Regions from separate parts of the Homo sapiens genome. Here regions 1, 3, 4, 5, 6 and 7 are each linked to region 2. Evidence: promoter capture Hi-C in 16 types of primary human blood cells and fetal thymus (Javierre and others, 2016). All regions are on one chromosome and are shown on one strand. The core of a region is centred on a gene start or on the middle of the fragment in contact, and the rest is flanking DNA. Distances in the headings are between cores, read along the strand shown. Region 1 overlaps LOC124904077 (translation initiation factor IF-2-like). Region 2 holds the start of ENDOV (endonuclease V). Region 3 holds the start of CHMP6 (charged multivesicular body protein 6). Region 4 overlaps BAIAP2 (BAR/IMD domain containing adaptor protein 2). Region 5 overlaps RPTOR (regulatory associated protein of MTOR complex 1). Region 6 overlaps BAIAP2 (BAR/IMD domain containing adaptor protein 2). Region 7 holds the start of CEP131 (centrosomal protein 131).

What was found. The method cuts DNA at HindIII sites, captures the fragments that hold promoters and counts their contacts. A CHiCAGO score of 5 or more calls a contact.
Region 1: a fragment that was not itself captured here is called in contact with the fragment with the promoter of ENDOV in region 2 in 3 of 17 cell types (naive CD4 T cells, activated CD4 T cells and total CD8 T cells); the score reaches 7.3 in naive CD4 T cells.
Region 3: a contact is called between the fragment with the promoter of CHMP6 here and the fragment with the promoter of ENDOV in region 2, in 17 of 17 cell types (naive CD4 T cells, naive CD8 T cells, endothelial precursors and 14 more). The highest score is 40.3, in naive CD4 T cells.
Region 4: a fragment that was not itself captured here is called in contact with the fragment with the promoter of ENDOV in region 2 in 8 of 17 cell types (naive CD4 T cells, non-activated CD4 T cells, naive B cells and 5 more); the score reaches 8.8 in naive CD4 T cells.
Region 5: a contact is called between a fragment that was not itself captured here and the fragment with the promoter of ENDOV in region 2, in 15 of 17 cell types (endothelial precursors, total CD4 T cells, naive CD4 T cells and 12 more). The highest score is 18.6, in endothelial precursors.
Region 6: a contact is called between a fragment that was not itself captured here and the fragment with the promoter of ENDOV in region 2, in 2 of 17 cell types (activated CD4 T cells and naive CD4 T cells). The highest score is 8.1, in activated CD4 T cells.
Region 7: a contact is called between the fragment with the promoter of CEP131 here and the fragment with the promoter of ENDOV in region 2, in 12 of 17 cell types (naive CD8 T cells, non-activated CD4 T cells, activated CD4 T cells and 9 more). The highest score is 18.3, in naive CD8 T cells.

Annotation. Positions count from the first base shown.
Region 1 is chr17:81,013,906-81,016,605 of GRCh38, forward strand. LOC124904077 (translation initiation factor IF-2-like) reads left to right here. Exons shown (of 1, transcript XM_047437254.1): 1 at 1-112. Among named protein-coding and RNA genes, the nearest start is that of BAIAP2-DT, 19 kb to the right of the region's middle. The HindIII fragment of the contact is 1,155 bases long and covers 808-1,962 here.
Region 2 is chr17:80,413,805-80,416,504 of GRCh38, forward strand. ENDOV (endonuclease V) reads left to right here and starts at 1,363. Exons shown (of 10, transcript NM_173627.5): 1 at 1,363-1,446; 2 at 1,846-2,017. The coding sequence starts at 1,391. RNF213-AS1 (RNF213 antisense RNA 1) reads right to left here and starts at 1,364. Exons shown (of 2, transcript NR_029376.1): 1 at 1,125-1,364. RefSeq lists an enhancer at 1,796-1,885. The HindIII fragment of the contact is 3,926 bases long and covers 807-2,700 here.
Region 3 is chr17:80,990,583-80,993,282 of GRCh38, forward strand. CHMP6 (charged multivesicular body protein 6) reads left to right here and starts at 1,259. Exons shown (of 8, transcript NM_024591.5): 1 at 1,259-1,399. The coding sequence starts at 1,337. RefSeq lists silencers at 1,152-1,481, 1,612-1,761, 1,772-1,961. The HindIII fragment of the contact is 12,121 bases long and covers 1-2,700 here.
Region 4 is chr17:81,036,871-81,039,570 of GRCh38, forward strand. All of the region lies in intron 1 of BAIAP2 (BAR/IMD domain containing adaptor protein 2), which reads left to right. Among named protein-coding and RNA genes, the nearest start is that of BAIAP2, 3.1 kb to the left of the region's middle. RefSeq lists enhancers at 144-696, 2,353-2,700. The HindIII fragment of the contact is 3,155 bases long and covers 1-2,700 here.
Region 5 is chr17:80,957,156-80,959,855 of GRCh38, forward strand. RPTOR (regulatory associated protein of MTOR complex 1) reads left to right here. Exons shown (of 34, transcript NM_020761.3): 29 at 469-575. Among named protein-coding and RNA genes, the nearest start is that of CHMP6, 33 kb to the right of the region's middle. RefSeq lists an enhancer at 2,232-2,700. The HindIII fragment of the contact is 3,760 bases long and covers 1-2,700 here.
Region 6 is chr17:81,085,564-81,088,263 of GRCh38, forward strand. It overlaps BAIAP2 (BAR/IMD domain containing adaptor protein 2), which reads left to right. Exons shown (of 14, transcript NM_001144888.2): 5 at 91-162; 6 at 880-1,017. Among named protein-coding and RNA genes, the nearest start is that of MIR657, 38 kb to the right of the region's middle. The HindIII fragment of the contact is 733 bases long and covers 956-1,688 here.
Region 7 is chr17:81,221,588-81,224,287 of GRCh38, forward strand. It overlaps CEP131 (centrosomal protein 131), which reads right to left and starts at 1,378. Exons shown (of 26, transcript NM_014984.4): 1 at 1,182-1,378. RefSeq lists enhancers at 1-409, 410-1,079, 1,080-1,749 and silencers at 1,111-1,440, 1,601-1,970. The HindIII fragment of the contact is 19,797 bases long and covers 1-2,700 here.

The sequences.
Region 1 (2,700 bases), core at 135-2,634, 600 kb after region 2:
TTGCCTTTGACCATGATTGGAAGCCTCCTGGGGCCTCTCCAGAAGCAGATGCCGCTGTGCTTCCTGTACAGCCTGCTGAACCACGAACCAATAAGCCTTTCTTTATAAATGACCCCGTCTCAGGTATTTCTTTATAGCAGTGCAAGAATGACCTAATACAAAAAGACAATCAACAGGCCGGGAGTGATGGCTCATTCCTGTAATCCCAGCACTTTGGGAGGCTGAGGCAGGCAGATCACTTGAGGTCAGGAGTTCAAGACCAGCCTGGTCAACATGGTGAAACCCCATCTCTACTAAAAATACAAAAATTAGTCGGGCATGGTGGCGTGCACCTGTAATCCCAGCTACTCAGGAGGCTGAGGCAGGAGAATCACTTGAACCCAGGATGGGGAGGTTGCAGTGAGCCAAGATCACACCACTGCACTCTAGCCTGGGCAGCAGAGCCAGACTGCATCTCAGAACAAACAAGTAAAAGGATGGGGAAAATATATCACAGAAACCCTAATCAAAAGAAAGATGGAGTAGTTGTGTTAATATCAGGCAATGTATATTCAAAACAAATATCAACAGGGATAATGAGAGACATTACTCAATAATAAAAGAAGGCAAAACAATCCAAATTGTGTATTCACCTAACAATAGAATTTCAAAACACATGAAGCAAAAACTAACAGAAATGAAAGGTAAAACAATTTCTTACAGTTAGAGACTTTCACCCTCCTCTTTCAGTATTTTGTTGTTGTTTTTAGTCAGGGTCTTGCTCTGTCACCCACGCTGGAGTGCAGTGGCACAAACATGGCTCACTGAAGCTTCAACCTCCTGGGCTCAAGTGATCCTTCTGCCTCAGCCTCCCGAGCAGCTGGGACTATAGGTACATGCCACCACACCTAGCTAATTTTTTTTTTTTTTGAGACAGAGTCTCGCTCTGTCGCCCAGGCTGGAGTGCAGTGGCGTGATCTCGGCTCACTGCAAGCTCCACCTCCCGGGTTCACGCCATTCTCCTGCCTCAGCCTCCTGAGTAGCTGGGACTACAGGTGCCCGCCACCTCACCCGGCTAATTTTTGGTATTTTTAGTAGAGACATGGTTTCACCGTGTTAGCCAGGATGGTCTCGATCTCCTGACCTCGTGATCCGCCCGCCTCGGCCTCCCAAAGTGCTGGGATTACAGGCGTGGGCCACCGCACCCGGCCACTAATTTTTTTATTTTTGTAGAGACGGGCTCTTGTCATGTTACCCAGGCTGGTCTTGAACTCCTGGGTTCAAGTGAACCTCCTGCTTTGGCCTCCCAAAATGCTGCGATTACAGGCATAGTCTACTGTTCCTGGCCCCTCTTTCAGTAATTGAGAGAATAAATAGAAAATCATGAAGGATATAGGACACCTGAACACTGTTAACTGGTTTGACTCAGCTGACATTTATAGAACATTCCACCCAGCAACAGCAGAATACACATTCTATTCAAGTGCATATTGGACATTTACCAAGACATATCATGTTCTGGACCATGAAATAAACCTTAACTAATTTAAAGGAATTGAACTCACACAAAGCATGTTCTCTGACCATAATATCAATCCAAAAGCCAGTAACAAAGAGCTATCTGGAAAATCCACAAATATTAAATTAACCTGTGAGTTAAATAGAAAATCACAAGGGAATTTAGAGGCTGTTTCTAACTGAAAGAAAATGAAAACTAAACATATTAACATTTATGGATTCTTGCTAAAACAGTGTTTAGAGGAAAACTTAGAATATTAAATGCTTATGTTAAGGTAGAAGAAAAGTCTGAAATCAGTTAGCTAAACTTTCACCTTAATTAATTCAAAAAAGAAGAGCAGATCCAAAGCAAGCAGGAGAAAAGAAACAATAGTGAGTGGACATCAGCAGAAATGAAAACAGAACATCAGAGAAAAATCAGTGAAAGCAAAAACTGGTTATTTGAAAATATCAATAAATTTGAAAAGCTTCAAGCTAGAGTGATCAGGAAAAAAAGAGAAGATACAAATTACAACATTAGCAATGAAAGTGGGAACACCACCCCAGACCCTATAGACATGAAAAAGATATTAAGGAAATATTACAGCTGGGCACGGTGGCTCACGCCTGTGATCCTAGCACTTTGGGAGGTCGAGGCGGGTGGATCACAAGGTCAGGAGTTTGAGACCAGCCTGGCCAAAATAGTGAAATGCCATCTCTTCTAAAAATACAAAAAAAATAGCCGGGCATGGTGGCAGACACCTGTAATCCCACTTACTTGGGAGGCTGAGGCAGAAGAATCACTTGAACACAGGACGTGGAGATTGCAGTGAGCCACGATCACGCCATTGTACTCCAGCCCGGGTGACAGAGTGAGACTCCATCTCAAAAAAAAAAAAAAAAAGAAAGAAAGAAAAAAGTAAATATGAAATATTACAAACAGTTTTATGCTCATAAATTTGACAATTTAGATTTAATGGGAAAATTCCTTGAAAGACTCAAACTGCCAAAGTTCACTCAAGATTAAATAGGTAAACCAAATTGTCATATGTCTATTAAATGCTACCAAACATTTAAGGAAGACTTAATACCAATTCTACACAAACTCTTAAAGAAAATAGAAGAGGAGAGAACACTTTGCAATTCCTTTTATGAGTTCAACATTACCTTGACCCTAAGACCACATAAGGCCATTACAAGAAAAGCAAACAGACCAATATCCCA
Region 2 (2,700 bases), core at 113-2,612:
TTCTGCTGGGACAAAGCGCCAGGAACACCACATTCTGCCGGAACCACCTCATCCTGGGAACACGTTAACATCTTCCCGGACAGCAAGCCATACTGCCTAGATCCCTCCTGCCCAGGCCTATGAGTACCCCAGCCTGTAATCGCTGGTGGGCTCTGGCATTAAGCTGGCCCCCGACAGGTGTTTGCAATACACCTGTGTTGCTGTAGAGCCGCCCGCGCGCCGGCAATCTCACTGTGCGTCATTCTTTAACCTTCACCTTCCCTTCAAAACCTAACACCCTTGACGTTTATATTCAGGCTATTATATATACATACACACATACACCCTTCTGAATCCTCCCAGGAGAATATAAAACCATGGGTTAAACTGCTACACTTCAGCTTCAGTGGCTGCCTTTCAGTGCTTCAAATACACCAACCTCTTTCCCACCCCGGGACCTGCACGAGAAAGCTGCTCCACTCACCCGCCGTGCTCTTTCACTCACCCTTCAGGTGTCTTCAATATCGCCTCTCAGGCCTTTCCCAACCACCGGTTTAAAGTCGGCTCCCCACAAATAAATACATATTCTCCCTCACAGTACTTCGCACAACACCTGGCACAGCGAGAGCACTGAACCAACACTCATTCAATGAGGAACACGAGGTAAGAACCAAGACCCCCCAAGGTCGCCGTACTTTGTCTGGTAGGAGAAGCTTTCTGCCCAGCAAGGTCCGACCCAGATGAAACCCCGTCCAAGTCTGCAGCACCCCCGTGAGTCCAGCCCGCTAAACTGTGAAGAATTTAAATACACGACACCTGCCCTCAAAAGCTTGAGGGCACCCCTGAGCTGCCATCGAGGTGGGGGCGTCAACGACAGGCGCTCAGTAAGTGCTCCTGAGGCAACTGCCGGGCTGTCCTGGACCTGGTGAATCCTTTCGGGGTTCAGCAAAGGCGGACGCTGACCGGGCCAAGGAGTGGGACCTGCAGTGCTGGACCACCCTTTTCCAAGCGCAGAAGTGCCGTGCCCGCCGGCTCTCAACAGGGCAAGAGGCCCCTCTCGCCGTGCAGAGCGCAGCGCTTGCGGCGGGGACAGCAGAGGCGGGACGGGCGTCACGGAGTTCCCGGGTCCTCGCGCGGTCACTTACCTGGCCTCAGCTATCCGCTGAAAAAGGGGCGGACGGCCTCCCGGGATCCGAGCCGATATCGCGCGCGGCGCCGCGGGGCAACCTGAAGCCGTGTGCGTGCGTGTGCGTTCACGCAGGGGCTCACCCAGCGGCCACGGGCTTCTGAAGACCCGGGTGGGAAGTGCGGCCCGGGAAAGCGCAAGCGTCTCCATGGCAACGAGGGCGGACGGCGTCAGAGCGAGTCGCTTCCGGAAGTGACGTGCGGAAGGGGTGCCCGGGACGAAGCCATGGCCCTGGAGGCGGCGGGAGGGCCGCCGGAGGAAACGCTGTCACTGTGGAAACGGTAATGCTGTCAGGCGACGCGCAGGAGGCGGGGGCCGAGGCCGGGCGGCCCTTCGCGGACCCTCCGAGCTCATAGTCTTCAGGCTGTGGAATCGGAGCTGCCACCGCCCGAGACTCCAAAGCAAAGCCCAGTTTCCGGCGCGGAAGCGGAGGGATCTCAGGAATTGTAGTCCGCGGGGTGGGCGCGGTTCTCGCTTCCGGCCAGTTTGTCTGGCCTGCGCTTGCGCGGGTCTCCGCCGCCTGGGCTCCTAGGGACTGTGGCCTCGGCGGTATGTCCCTTGCTTTCCCTTGAAGCGGGAGAAGACCCGGCAGAGGCGCTCTGTCCGCTGCAGCCGCGCGGGTGGAGGAGGCAGAGTCTGAGGTGTGACCCCGACCAAGTTTGACGCTTCTGTCCTCCTAGGGAGCAAGCTCGGCTGAAGGCCCACGTCGTAGACCGGGACACCGAGGCGTGGCAGCGAGACCCCGCCTTCTCGGGTCTGCAGAGGGTCGGGGGCGTTGACGTGTCCTTCGTGAAAGGGGACAGTGTCCGCGCTTGTGCTTCCCTGGTGGTGCTCAGCTTCCCTGAGCTCGAGGTAACCTGGGAGGACGCCGAGCTCGAGGCGGGCCCCTCGGTGGGCTCGGGCGTGCGGTCTCCGGGACAGGGAGCAGTGCAAGCGTAGAACCCGGCTTCTCGTTTTGTAGGATGTCATTAATAGTCTGGGGAGTTGGCCGGGCGCGGTGGCTCACGCCTGCAATCCCAGCACTTTGGGAGGCTGAGGCGGGGGAATCACCTGAGGTCGGGAGTTCGAGACCAGCCTGACCAACATGGAGAAACCCGGTCTCTACTAAAAATACAAAATTAGACGGGTGTGGTGGCATATACCTGTAATCCCAGCTACTCGGAAGGCTGAGGCGGGAGAATCGCTTGAACCCGGGAGGCGGAGGTTGCGGTGAGCCAACATCACGCCATTGCACTCCAGCCTCGGCAACAAGAGCGAAACTCCATCTCAAAAAAAAAAAAAAAAAAAAAAAGTCTGGGGAGTCTTGGAAGGGAAAAAAAGGCAAAAATTAAGGGAATTCTGTGACTATTAAGAATCAGCTCATGAGCTTTATCTTCAAGTCTGATTGTTATCTTGGGTTCTTCATCTCAGTGACCTGTCCACCACGCTCCCAGTTGCCCAAGCTGGAGATCTGCATCCTCCTGGGCCCCTCCGTTCCTCTCGCGTCCAGTTGCACACTAGCTCGCTTTTATTCTGCCTCTTAAATGTCGCTGGAA
Region 3 (2,700 bases), core at 9-2,508, 580 kb after region 2:
CCCCATGGACACCAAGGAAAAAAGTACTTCAGATGTCTTGGTGAGACAAATCAGAGGGTGGGAGATGAACCCCACAAAAATTCAGGGGCCCCCTCACCTCAGTGAAGGTTCTGGAGTCCAGAGGTTTGGAACAGGTGATAATTATTCTCCTTTTGATGTTATTTGTTATATTTTTTGTAGAGACGGGGGTCTTGCTATGTTGCCAGGCTGGTCTTGAACTCCTGGCCTCAAGCCATCCTCAGCTGAGTGCTTTTCTTTGACACTTAGTGAATGCTCAGGAACCACAGTCAGGATACTCAGGCGGGAACCGGGGTGGCTTCTCCCTTTTACCCTTTATCCCCATTCATGTGTTTCTTAGCCCCCCAGGGAAGAATGCTTCTGTGGGGGACGCAGCCACGATTCCTTGGAAGGAGAAGCTGAGCCCAGCCATGCTGGTCTCCTCCTGGCACTGATCTACAGACAGGGAGCAGCGCAGTGGAAGAGGGAAGATCCCAGGGCTGAAAGGCTGGGTGGAGGGCGCTGCTGGTCGCATTTCAGGGAACATTTTAAAGTGCAAAGCGGGCCGGGTGCGGCGGCTCACGCCTGTCATCCCAGCACTTTGGGAGCCCGAGGTGGGTGGATCAGAAGGTCAGGAGCTCAAGGCCAGCCTGGCCAATATGGTGAAACCCCGTCTCTACTAACAAACATTAGCCGGGTGTGGCAGCAGGCACCTGTAGTCCCAGCTACTCAGGAGGCTGAAGCAGGAAAATCACTTGAACCCGGGAGGCAGAGTTTGTAGTGAGCCGAGATAGCGCCCCTGCACTCCACCCTGGGCGACAGAGCAGGACTCCATCTAAAAAAAAAAAAAAAAAAAAAAGTGCAAAACGTTGGATATCACATCATTAATGCGGCATTTTGTGTTCAGAGCCAGTGGGACAGTGATTCCTGCACAAGATTCCTGAAAGCCTGGGGAGACTGAATTATGTTAATCTAAAAGGATCCCACCTAATTAGGAGATAAGAAATTTTTGCCTTCACCTGCACAGGAAGGGTGCACGGAAACACGTCATTTAGAACATCCCGGGCCCGAACATCGCGGGCCCTAACATCCAGGTATCCGTGCCACTTCTCCGTACCGGTCCAAGGAGGCCGCGGTGTTCGCGGCGGTCGCCGAGACCGGCGGGCTGTGGTTTCGAACCCGCGGCAACGGCGCGCGGCCGGAGGCGGCGCTCGGCCTTCGCGTTCCGCGGCGCCTGGCCCGGCGCGGCCGCCGTAGCGGGAGGACCCGAGCTACGGTGGCCGCGGGGCGGCGGTGGCGATTGGACTTGGTGGGTCCCGGGCCAGGGGCGGGCGCCGCCATGGGTAACCTGTTCGGCCGCAAGAAGCAGAGCCGCGTCACGGAGCAGGACAAGGCCATCCTGGTGAGGGCCCGGGCCCGGGGTCAGGGCTGGGGCCGGGACAGGCGACGGGGCCGGGGCGGGCGGCGGGGCCGGAAGAGCCCCGCGCCCTCGGCCCCCCGCGTTCGGATGGGGAAACTGAGGCGCAGCGCGCAGCCGGGCCCCTCGGTCTCTCCGCCCTGCGTCCCTCCTCGCCCGCGGGGCCTCGGGCCGGGGTCTCCTGCGCGGCGCCGTGGCTGCCGTCTTCCCCGGGGCCCGCGCGTCCGCCTCTGCGAGCCCCGCCGGGGTGGGCGCGGCTGGTGACTGCGGGATTCGACGCCGGCGTTCGGGGCTCGGCCACAGCCTGGCGGCCCGTCCGTGGGGTCCGCGCGGCGCTGGGCTTTCCCTGGCTCTGGGCCCGCGGGAGCAGGTCCCGGCTCTCCCGGAGTCGCTGCCCCCGCCCCCGTCCCGCGGCTCATTTGCCTCCTGGTGCCCTGGGCCGGAGCCCCGGCGGTGCTGCCGGCTTCGCGAGGCAGCGCGGGGCATCCCCTCTCCCTCACCCCATCCAGGCCAGGACTGGAAGGAAGTCTGCCCTGGTCCGAGGAGCGGCCGACAGGTGCGCCGAACGCCTGCCGGGGTCCTGCCGGGGTCCTGCCGGGCTTCCGCAGCGCCTGGGTACGGGACCACCGTGTTTGGCGCGTTTGTTTGCGGCGACTCCAGACTGACCCCCCGGGGCACAGCCGGGCCGGTGGTGGTGCCTTTTCCCATGTGAAAGTTAGCTTCTGTAGGAGGAGGAATCGCCTGGCATGTCAGGGACAGGGCGGGTTAAGAATAGTCCATTTTTGTAACGAGATAAACGTGTCACGAAAGAGACCCCGAAATGAAAGCAGGGCTAGCTTTTTCGGATGCTTTCTTTTCTAAATTTTGTGCAACAGAAATAGGTTAATTTTATACTAAAAGAGAAGCGAATGTAAATGAAAGAGGGAATCTTACGTTGGCATCTGAGTCCATAAGCTGTGAAAAGAAACAACGGGCACATTTGTCCCTAGAGAAGATGGGCACAGCGCTGGGCACCGTCCCGAGCTGCCTGCAAGACAGCTGGACCCAGCCTCCATCGTCCACCTTCCACCTACCCTGCCAGCCCCAAGGCACTCCCTCCCCTCTCTTTAAGGACTCAGCTCCGGTTTCTCTTCAAGCACAGCTTTCCACTTGCCAAGGGTCACTGTGGGCTCTCGGCTGTGCAGACCCGTGTTGCGGGCTGCCGTAGGTCTCCCTGGGATTTTGGGTGCTTGGGAACAGCATCCTTAGCACACACTAGCACAAATGATTGCTTTTTTTTTTCTGTT
Region 4 (2,700 bases), core at 32-2,531, 620 kb after region 2:
AGAGAAGTACCAGCGGAACCTTTTTCCTATTTTTTCTCCTTCTGCGCTGAAACCAGAAAGCAGGAACTTTCGTGGTGAGAGTTGGCAGGGGGTGAGTACATGGAGTGGTTTTGCTCTGGGGGACCGACCCCGTGATCGTCCTTAATAAAACTCTCCTAACCGGGCAGTAGGCCTTCACCTAGGTGAAGCTGTAATTTATCTGCAGGTCTAAGTGAAATCTGCTGGCAGGAAAACTCTTAGGACTGAGTGTTTGGGGACTTTGAGCCCCTGTGGACGCAGACCAGCTGGTCTGGAGCACGTGAAACACACAGGTTCTGCGTTTTGTCTTCCACGGGTGGGTTAATTGGTGATTTTCCCAAGTGAAGATGTGGCGGTTGATGATTTGATTTAGCACGGCAGGACGCGGTGGGCCGCAGGTGTCTGAAGGGTCGATCCACTCTGGAAAGGCTTTGCCCTGGTGACAGGCTTGCGCTGCTGCTGCTGCACACAGGCGGGGTTGGTTTTGTAGGTAGGTGGCTCCTGCTGCCACTCCGGGAGCCTGACTGCTGAGTCTTTGAGACCTTTTTGTGCTTTGTCACTGGGGAGCTCAAGGTGCCTTGGTAGTGCCGGTACTGGTTGGGCAGCTTTTGGCAATGTCAGCCAGGCAGAAACTCAGCCCACATGGAGACATAGTCAGGAGACCGCTGAGGCCACCGGTGTGCACTCCTGGGCCGGTCCAGCCGGTCCAGGCAGTGCTGAGCTCTGTCCTCTCCTGGGACGGTGCTGCCTCTGGCATCCCTTCCCGGGGCCGCTCCTGTGCCTGGGTTGGCGGCTTGCAGAGCCCTGGCAGTGCCTCTTGGAACGGCTGTGCTGTGGCCTGCTTAGTGTCACCCGCGATGCGGCTCAGCTGTTTGGTTTGGTTTGGACATTGCATCGCCTTAACTGCAGTTCTGAGTGGTGTTTGCCTTGGCAAAGGAGGACGCTTGTCCTTGGCCTTGGTGATTAAAAATGCGAGAATAAAAAGTGCAGTTTTGATTTTCTTCCCCGTAAGAATCCGTAACGCAGACTTTGACCTCTTTTCTGGTGGCTCCATTCCCTTGGGAGCTGTGTCCTCGGGGAATTTCATGGAAGATGAAGGGGAGGGGAGTGGAACGGCTTCCCGGTGTTTGCCGAGAACATAATCTCAGACCTTCTGGGGGCACTGCGTGGGCTGGGCCCTGCAGGTGTTGGGAGGGCAAGGCGCGGAAGACCCCTTCCTCCACAGGAGCCCGGGCCCAGCGCTTGCTCAGGTTGCCCTGGGTAGTGGCCCAGATGGAGGGATGGAGTGCTGGAATCTGCCTCCCCCGGTGGCCTTTGGAATTAAGGCTACTGAAGCTGCAGCCCTCTTGGGGAAGCCCCGTGCATCCCTGTGTGCTGAGGGGCTGGCTCCCTGGCTGGCTGTGTCTCCTGGAATGCCAGGAGAATGTCAGGTGGGTGTTTTCCTCAAGGTCTCGTGTCCGCAGAGAAGCCCTGGCTCCCAGGTGACCCATGACCTGGAGTGTGGCGGCTCCACCACCTTCTCTGGGCATAGTGCCATTGGCCCACAGCCTGTCCTAGAATATGTGAGGTTGAGAGAGCATCTGGGGAGGAGGAGGAGTCCCTGTTGCAGACGTGGCCATGGCCTTCCTTGTGCCGAGGCTCTTGGCCCTGGCTGGTCACTCTAGCAGCTGGTGGGGAAGCCAGCCTGGCGGGGCCGCAGCCGTGCTTCGAGGAGACGGGTGCCACAGGGTTCCTGGAGCCAGGAGCCAGTTGGGTTTGCCGCCTCTGGTGTGATTGGTAAGGGCTGGCGCCAGGTGGTGGGCGTCATGTGCTGGGTGGCAGGGAGCACACTGCCGGCTTTTCTGCTCCGTGCCCGGCTGCCCGGGCCTGGCTGTTCCTCTCTGCCACATCCAGCTTCTTCCTGGGGTGTGCAGAGCTCACCATCCCCTCCATTTGGAGACGGTGGGGGGTGGTCTCTGACAGGCACCTCCTGCTGACAGGCACCTCCTGGCATTGGAGTCGCCTTCCTGGGTGGGGGGGGCAGCAGACCCGGCACCTGAGGAGGAGAGAAATCACAGTGCTGGACCCAGCTCCGTGCGCGTGTACATGTGTATGTGTGTCCGTGTGTGCACACGTGCATGCAGTGCTTTGTGTTTAAGGATACTTCCTGGGGTGGCCCCCATGGGCACCATCTTGCCGCAGGGTGGCTGGGTCTGCTGTCACTGAGTAGACCTGGCCTGCATTTTCTCTACATGTGCATGTCTGTGTTACCCGCCCTCGCCACCGCCAGCCTTTAGCAGGGGGCACGTCTCCCAGGAGCAGTGCTGATGTGGTCCCCTTGGTGGGGTGGCCAGGGCACAAAGACCGGCTGCCGTGTCATGCTGCCCTCTGGGCTGCCCAGCCTGTGTGGGCTTTGGCCCCAGGCACTGTCCTGCCGGTTGTTGGCTCCAGGGTGTACAACCCTTCTGCTGGTGCTTGCTCAGCGTCCCATGCCTGCTGGCTCCAGGTGGCGTCCAGCGTTCGCTTGGTGTCCCATGCCTGCTGTGCCGTTGGTGGCTGCATGAAGTCCGTGTCTACCGATGGATGTGGCCAGGCGTTCTGGGATGTGGCGCTTGTGGAGTTGTGGGCTGCTTGGGGGAGAGTGTCCTGCCCGTGCCTGCTGTCCCCACAGCCTTGCCTTGAGCAAGTATTCTTCGTTGGGGA
Region 5 (2,700 bases), core at 30-2,529, 540 kb after region 2:
CACCCCGGCCTGGACTTGGGAGTTCCAGCTTAGAACTGTCACCCCGGCCTGGACTTGGGAGTTCCAGCTTAGAATTGTCACCCCGGCCTGGACTTGGGAGTTCCAGCTTAGAACTGTCACCCCGGCCTGGACTTGGGAGTTCCAGCTTAGAATTGTCACCCCGGCCTGGACTTGGGAGTTCCAGCTTAGAACTGTCACCCCAGCCTGGACTTGGGAGTTCCAGCTCAGAATTGTCATCCCGGCCCGGACTTGGGAGTTCCAGCTCAGAATTGTCACCCCAGCCTGGACGTGGGGCACACCAGGGTCCCTAGCGGGAGCTCATATGAGGCATATGGACCCACCAGATGGGCTCGATGGTGGCAGGGGTACCTTGTAGCTGCTGGCCAAATTGCTGCCCAGAGCAGGCCCCAAAGCCTGCCCAAGGCAAGGGCCCATGGGGTGATGCCATGTCCCACTGTATCTCTCCAGGAGCTGGGATGGTGGTGGACTGGGAGCAGGAGACCGGCCTCCTCATGAGCTCAGGAGACGTGCGGATCGTCCGGATCTGGGACACAGACCGTGAGATGAAGGTGCAGGTAACCATGCAGGTGTCCCCCAAGCCCTGGGCCTGTGGGGCAGTGTGTGCAGGGCTGGTCCTCGTCACAGAACCCAGCAAAGTGTGCGGTGAGGCCTGGCCATCCCAGGGGTGGAGTCAGGGCCTGGGAGGACAGTGCCGGGACAATGCTGGGAGGAGACGTGGGCTCCCTGAGGCCTCTGGATGAAGGTGAACTGCAACACCCAGCCCTGCGCTGCAGTATGGCTCAGGCTGCGCCAGCTCTGAGTGTTTGCAAGTAGTGTCTTCTCTCTGCAAATTAAGGAATGTCAGAAATCAGTAGGGTGACCAATTGTAAATTAGAATGATTAATTATTTGGAGGCGTTTTTTTTTTTCTTTTGAGATGGGGTCTCACTCTGTCACCCTGCGTCACCCAGGCTGGAGTGCAGTCGTGCAATCACAGCTCACTGCAGCCTCAACCTCCTGGTCCAAGTGATCCTCCCACCTCACCCCCCCCCCCCACCACCAAGTAGCTGGGACTACAGGCATGCACCCACACGCCTGGCTAATTTTTTTAACTTTTTGTAGAAACAGGGGTCTCAGTATTTGCCCAAGCTGGTCTCGAATTCCTGGCTCCGGCAATCTTCCTGCCTTGGCCTCCCAAAGCACTGGGATTATAGGTGTGAGCCGCTACAGAAGACAGAAGATTTTTGTTTCTTTTTTTTTTTTTTTTTTTTTTTGAGACAGAGTCTTGCCTTGTCGCCCAGGCTGGAGTGCAGTGGCGCGATCTCGGCTCACTGCAAGCTCCGCCTCCTGGGTTCATGCCATTCTTCTGCCTCAGCCTCCCGAGTAGCTGGGACTACAAGCGCCCACCACCACGCCCAGCTAATTTTTTTTTTGTATTTTTAGTGGAGACGGCGTTTCACGTGTTAGCCAGAATGGTCTCTATCTCCTGACCTCGTGATCCGCCCACCTCAGCCTCCCAAAGTGCTGGGATTACAGGCGTGAGCCACTGCGCCCGGCCAGAAGCCTCTTTGCTTCTTAAAGCATCTGCTATTTTCAGTTTTGACAAAAAGCGGAGTACATTGGTTTTGCCCAAGACAGCCTGGAAAAGTGGTAGAGACCTAAGCAGGCCGCGCTCAGCAGAAATCTAACTGCATTGACTTCATTTGGAGCAGAGGCGAGACCACAGATACTGTGAGGGGCAGCGCCTGAGGTGGCTTTAGAGCCAGTATTCCCTTCCTCTGGGTCCCCAGGGAGAGGTGTGGCACAGAGGCCATACCCAGCCTCTCTCCCGGGCAGGCCATCTGGTGTCAGGAGGGATGGCTCAGCCCTGCTGCCGTAGAGGGCGGTGTGGAGCAGGCCCAGCAGAGGGGAGGCCTGGGCACCCTCAGCTGCTCGAAGCTGCTGTGGTTGCTCTGGGCAGCAGCAGCCCGAGAACCTGGCCCAGGCCTTCCCGTGTGGGCAGCCTCCCCTCTGACGTGACCGTGGATCCCTCGAGGCACCAGCAGCTTTCATGGCACCTTCTTTGGGGTGGGGGGGTCTTGCACCTGTCTGGAGCTGTGGCTCCACACGAGACGTAGCCCTCAGGGCACAGCGTGGACACCCTGATCCTCAGGGTCTGGTCACCAGTGGGGGCTTAGAGGCCCAGGTGGCCTGCGGGGCAGGTGCTGTTCCTGCAGAGGTGGGTGGAGGCACAGAGCGCAGCAGGTGCTCCCAGAGCCGGCTCTGCCCCTCGCAGGGGTCTGGCCCCATCATCCCCACGCCTGTGTTTCCTCCTGGAGTGCACAACCCAGCACCGCCCATCGTGCGTGGAAAGCGCTCTCCCTCTCGTGGCCCTTTTCCTCCTGCGTCCCTGGCAGGTGCCATCGCCCCCGCCCCCGCTTCTCCAGCACTTAGAGCCCCCGAGGGAGCCAGATGACCCCTCCTGGACTCGTCCCATAGCTCATTAGAAGTTCTGAGACGCAGCCAGTGAGGAGTCCTTGCCAAAATGTGCTTTGCTTTCCTTTTTAGGAAACAGAGAGAGGTTGGAAGTTTAATTGGCACTGACAGCCAGTCCTTCCCAGAGGCGTTTGCAGGCCTCCGCTCGGGGTGGGGCTGGCCTCTGCCTCACTGGCTGGGTCCCAGGCGCCTCAGGGCCTCAGGGCTGTCCCTCCAGGGCCAAGGG
Region 6 (2,700 bases), core at 72-2,571, 670 kb after region 2:
TCGTGCCCATCCGCTCTAGCCCTGCCCTGCCTCCTGTTCCGGGTCCATGTGTTGGAGCTGACGGCTGATGTGTTTTCTCTCCATGTCCAGCTGAAGTCTTTTCACAACGAGCTGCTTACGCAGCTGGAGCAGAAGGTGGAGCTGGACTCCAGGTATCTGAGTGTAAGTGCACCCTGGCCGTGCCTGCTGGGCCCTGTGCCTGGGCTCCGGCTCTCCCAAATGCCTGCCACTCCTTCCTCGGCCTGAAGGCTTCCCACTTCCCCGAGCTCCCCGTCCACATGGGCCCCAGCTCTGACTTTATTGTCCATTTGGGACCGAGTGCCCCTGGTGTGCCCCAAATGCAACCTGTGGGTGAATCCGTTGCCTCTGACGCCCCACATGCCTGGTTCCATGCCCCGGCTTTGGCCACTTGCGGTGAAGCTGGTGCCTGACTCTGCTGCCGGGGAGTGCAGGAGCTCCTTCTCTGGCCTCTGCAGTTCCCTGGGCTCTCGGCCCGTCCTGCCCCACCGCCACTCCTGTCCGCTGGCAGGAAGGCTTGGGGCTGAGGCACTGCTTGAGGGTTTGAGGGTCACCTCTGGCTCTCAGTGGTGGGCGGGAGGGGTGGGCCTCGGCCACTTTTTCCAAGTGTGATTTTCATCTTGGGCGACCAGAGAGCTGCTATGGGGTTGGGTGGGGTCGGGCTGAGGCTTCATTTGGGCTCTCCCCAACTCTGATTTGCAGCTGAGCATGCACGGCCAGAGAGCGAGCCAGGAAGGGAGTGGCAGGGCTGGCAAGGGGACCCCGTTGCGTTGGGCTCATGGGCCTCGGTTTTGCTGCCAGTGGTCCGCGCTGCGTTGGGTTCATGGGCCTTGGTTTTGTGTTTTATTGTTTGAATCTCAGGCTGCGCTGAAGAAATACCAGACTGAGCAAAGGAGCAAAGGCGACGCCCTGGACAAGTGTCAGGCTGAGCTGAAGAAGCTTCGGAAGAAGAGCCAGGGCAGCAAGAATCCTCAGAAGTACTCGGACAAGGAGCTGCAGGTAGGCCCGCCACCCCCGCTGTGGTGCCTCTCCTGCCACCTTGGGACTGCTCACCCCTCGGCCCCCCTCGTCCACAGGGAGTGGACAGCAGCCCCCCAGGTGCGATCAGACAGAGGCAGGCTGTGTGTCCCTGGTAGACCTCGGGAGCGGTGGGCCTGACGCCCCCAGGCCGGTGGGATGGTCGGCTCACCTGTGGGGCTCTGTCCTGCTCTTGCAGCCTCCCAGGGTCACTGAAAGGTTCTTGGCTGAAGGAGCAGAAACCTAAATGGAGTCCTCCCCTCTGTTCTCCCCATCCCTGCCCGGGAGTCCGGTCCCAGTTTGTTCCTCTAAGCGGTCGTGGCCTCCGCCTGCAGGGCTGGCCACTCGAGGGAAGGTGGTACTTCAGGTTCCTCGAGGGAGCGGCTTCGGTGTTGTTTCTCTCACCGTCCCGCCGGCGTCACCGGTGCTGCGTGCTGAGTGGGCTGGGACGTAGGAAGGCCTGGCCGATGACAGGCACGGCCTGATGTGTGTACACCAGAACCTGGATGGTGGCTGACACAGGCCAGACCCAGAAACCCCTCGCCCACTTGCTGGGGTCATAGTGATACAGAAGAGAAAGAAACACAAAACAAGATGCCCAGTCGTGTGTAAAGGAAACATCAGGAAAACCCCTGGCCAGTCACCCAGGTAGAAGCTTCTGGGCTGCACCCTGGGGTGGGCAAGGTGTGGCTGTGGGTGAAGCCCGGGCCTCCAGGCCGCACCCTTCCTGCTGGCAGTCAGGTTTTCAAGCCTTGGCAAGCCCCGCACACACCTGCCCGTGTGCGTGTGTCTGCGTGTGTGTGTGCGACCGTCTCCTTGGTGCCGGATGTGGGTGCTCATGAGTGGCTGTGGCCTCGCCCTGGGACTGGGAGGCCGGTTCCTGCTCAGAGCCTGTGCCCCCGCTCCCTGCTTAACTGCAGGGAAGCCAAGCAGGTCTGCCCACACCCTGCAGACCAAGCCAGAAGATTTCCAGTGTGGGGTCGCCTGGTGGAGCTGGATCGGCCCCAAAGGAGAGGACGGGACTAGGCCAGGGGCAGATGAGAAGGATAAGTGAGAGTCTGTGGAAACAGCCATACGGGGGAGCTGGGGGTCCCTCGGGTGCCCGCTGCTGTTTGCAGCCTCCCACTCAGGCATGCTTGGTGCACAGTTGCAGGGACGCAACTCAGGCCGTTCTCTAGGGTGCCCTGCCCTCTCCAGCCACCTCTTCCCGTGTCCCCAGCCTTTGTTTTGATCCTGTTTTTCACTCCAGGTAAGCTGTGATGGGTCTTTTGATCCTTTCCGTTTTGCACTCCGGGTAAGCTGCCATCATGGGTCTTTCTATGATGGGCCCATCATGGTGGCCTTAGTATTCCTGCCTGAGGCTGCTGCAGCGAGCCGTCCTCAAGCTGTTTCTGTGAACAGAACCTGAGCAGTGGGCATGGGGAGTTGAGGAGGAGAAATAGGTATATGTTGGTAGACACTGTGTCTGTTTTTCTTCTTCCTCCCACCGTGGAACGTTTTGCTACTTTGCTTTCTGAAGACAAGCAGCGGACGGCACCCCTGCGGCCTGGAGGGCCATAGCCGCCTCCGAGCAGGTCAGGACAGTGCAGGTGTGAGCCAGCCCTGAGCACCGAGGCCAGGTGTGAGAGCTTGTCTTAAGGGGGACTTTCCTGGGAATGTCCCCAG
Region 7 (2,700 bases), core at 128-2,627, 810 kb after region 2:
CTTGGCCCCGGCCAGTCCCCTGCCTCTAGGTCTCAGGACACTCCCTCCCTGCACTCAGAGGCCTTCCTTGAGCACCCATCACTCTTCACTCCCCATCCGGCTCGGACTCCCTTCCTGTGGCCGCACACAGTTGGTTTATGAATTGTGTGGCTCCTGAGCAACCCCAGCACCTGCAGGGAAAGGCACTCAGCTGAACCCGTAGATGAACGGGAGAAGCTGGCGCCAGGGACCAACCTCGAGAATTACCTCCCTGCCACGGTGGCCTCCAGTAGGCCAGCAGGCACCCAGCCTATCGCCCAAGGTCACCCTGGGCTTCCTTCAGCCCGGCACCCCACAGCAGGTCCCCCAAGGTCCCTTCCACGGAGCGATGGATACCCCTACTCCCTAGAGGCTGACCCTGCCACTGACCAGGTCCCAGTCCTCAGTTATGCACTTCCGGCTGTGCGGAAGAAACTTAACACCCTCCTCCTGCAGGGCACTGTCCACCCCTGGCTGGACCCATGCAAGCCCTTGGAGCCCAGGACTCTGCTCTCCCAGCCACACTTGCAAGCGGCTCTGGGATGGCGAACGGGGCCTCTCCATGGAAACCTCCAAGCCAGAAGAAGGGAGGCCTGGGAGGCCACTACATCTTGGATAAAACTGTGTCCCTCCCAGGACCTGAAGGGGCGGGGACTGATGACCAGCGCCAGGACCTGGTTCCCAGGGTGGGCTGACCCTGACCCTGACCCTGACCCTGGACAGAGAGGCCAGAGCCCACGCGCAGAGCAGAGCCCTCCACTTGTCCTCAGGGCAGCTCCCATCTCCCCATTTTCCCCAGGGCTTAAGGCAGCCGGGCCAGAGATGCCGGGACTGGACTCCATGTTGTCCTGGGGACCGGAGGGGAGTGGAGGGAGGTGGAGAGGGTGGAGGGGATGGAGGTGGGGACCCACACCCTCAGGCACGAGCCTGTCTTCACCTGCGCGGGCCCCGGACCTCCCTCACCTGTGCGCACCCTGGATCCCCCTCACTTCCCCCGGATCCCGCCTTCAATTGCGCGGGCACCAGATCCCCCCACTCACCTGTGCGTGCCCCGGATCCCCATCACTTCATCACTGGACCAGGGCCTCCCACCTGCGCGGGCTCCGGACCCCTCCAACCTCCGTGCGCCCTGCAACCCCCTCCCTTGCCCGGGCCCCCCTCACCTGCGCGGGCCGGGGGCGCAGCCGCGAAGCCTGCCTGGCGCGCGGGGCCTGCAGATTCGGCCGGCGGGGAGGGGATGCGGAACCAGTCGCGCCCAAACCTCGGGTCGGCGACCTGGCGCCCCGCCACCCCCAACACTGCCCCGAGGCCCGGTGACAATGAAGCGGCCGGACGGCCGGGGTGAGCAGCGGCGGCAGCTAGCAACCAGCCTGGCACCACCTCCCCAGCCCGTCACGCCGGCCCGCCTTTCCTGCGCGCGCCGACTCCGGATTGGCCCTTCACGCTCCCGCTCAGGCCGTCCCGGGAGCTCATTGGGCCGCTCGGCTGTCCTTCGGGAAGTTCAAGCGTGGGAGGAGCGGCGGATGGCTGAGGGACGCGACTACAGAGAGCGGCCGATTGGACGCGGCTGGAAAGGGGCGGGTCATATAGGGGGCGGGGGACCGAGGGCGGCGGGAGGAGCTGGCCGGGCAGGGGCGGGGCCCCAGCGGTTGTGGGCGGGGCGTGAGGTGGGGGTGTGATGGGCGAGTAGGGCGAGGCAGATGTGGGCGGGGCAAGGCAGGTGTGGGCGGGGCACGCAGGGCCTGGGGAGGAGACACCAGGGAGGGCGCGAGGAGCACGCGGCCTCGGCTCGGCTCCCCGACACCCCCAGGCCGCCGCACTCCCGCGGCCCGGGGCTCCCCCAGTGTCCTAGGCCGCTCTGTCCCCACCCACGTGCGCGACTCCCCTCGTTACTCAGTACGACTGCGAGGGCGTGTGGGCGCCTTGCTAACCTCCCTGACCTCCTTCCCTTCGCGCTGCTTTGTTGTTTTTTTTCCTTCTCCAAAGTTTTAACGCTGCGCCCCGTGCGTAGCCGCTCTGTGACTCCCCCTCTCTCCGGGAGCCCTGGGGATTCCGCCCAGGTCCTCTCCAGGGAAGCCATCCTTCCCCTAAAAGTCACAGCACACTGGTCTCCCCTGCCCCCGCTTTTTAAAAAGTCCAGTGCTCTGTAAAATAAAAAGTTTGGTTTCAGTAAAATCCACATTTTTTGGTGTGCAGTGGAGTTGTGTAACTTTAGTTACAGAACATTCTCCCTCCGGATCCCGTACCTGCTGACTGCTGGTGGCGGCTGCTCAGTTCTCTCTGTTCTCCATCCCTAGAGGCAGCCTTTTCCAGAATGTCACACAAAAGGGATGTCGCGCAGCGCGCCTGTGGGTCTGGCTTCTACCACTTCGCATTTTGAGATTCATGCTGGTTCCTCTTTATTGCTGAGTGGTATCCTGTAACCGGTGTGAACCACCGGTTCAGATGGTTTTATTTATTGATGGTTTTATTCATCAAATGAAGGACGCAGAGATTGTTCCTGGTGCTTGGCAATTATGAATGACGCTGCCATAAACATTCACTCATCGGCTTCTGTGTGGACACAACTTTTCATTTCTCTTGTGTAAATACCCAGGAGTGGGGTTGCTGGATCAAATGATTGTTTATAAGAAACTGCCGGCCGGGCGCAGTGGGTCCCACCTGTAATTCCAGAACTTTGGG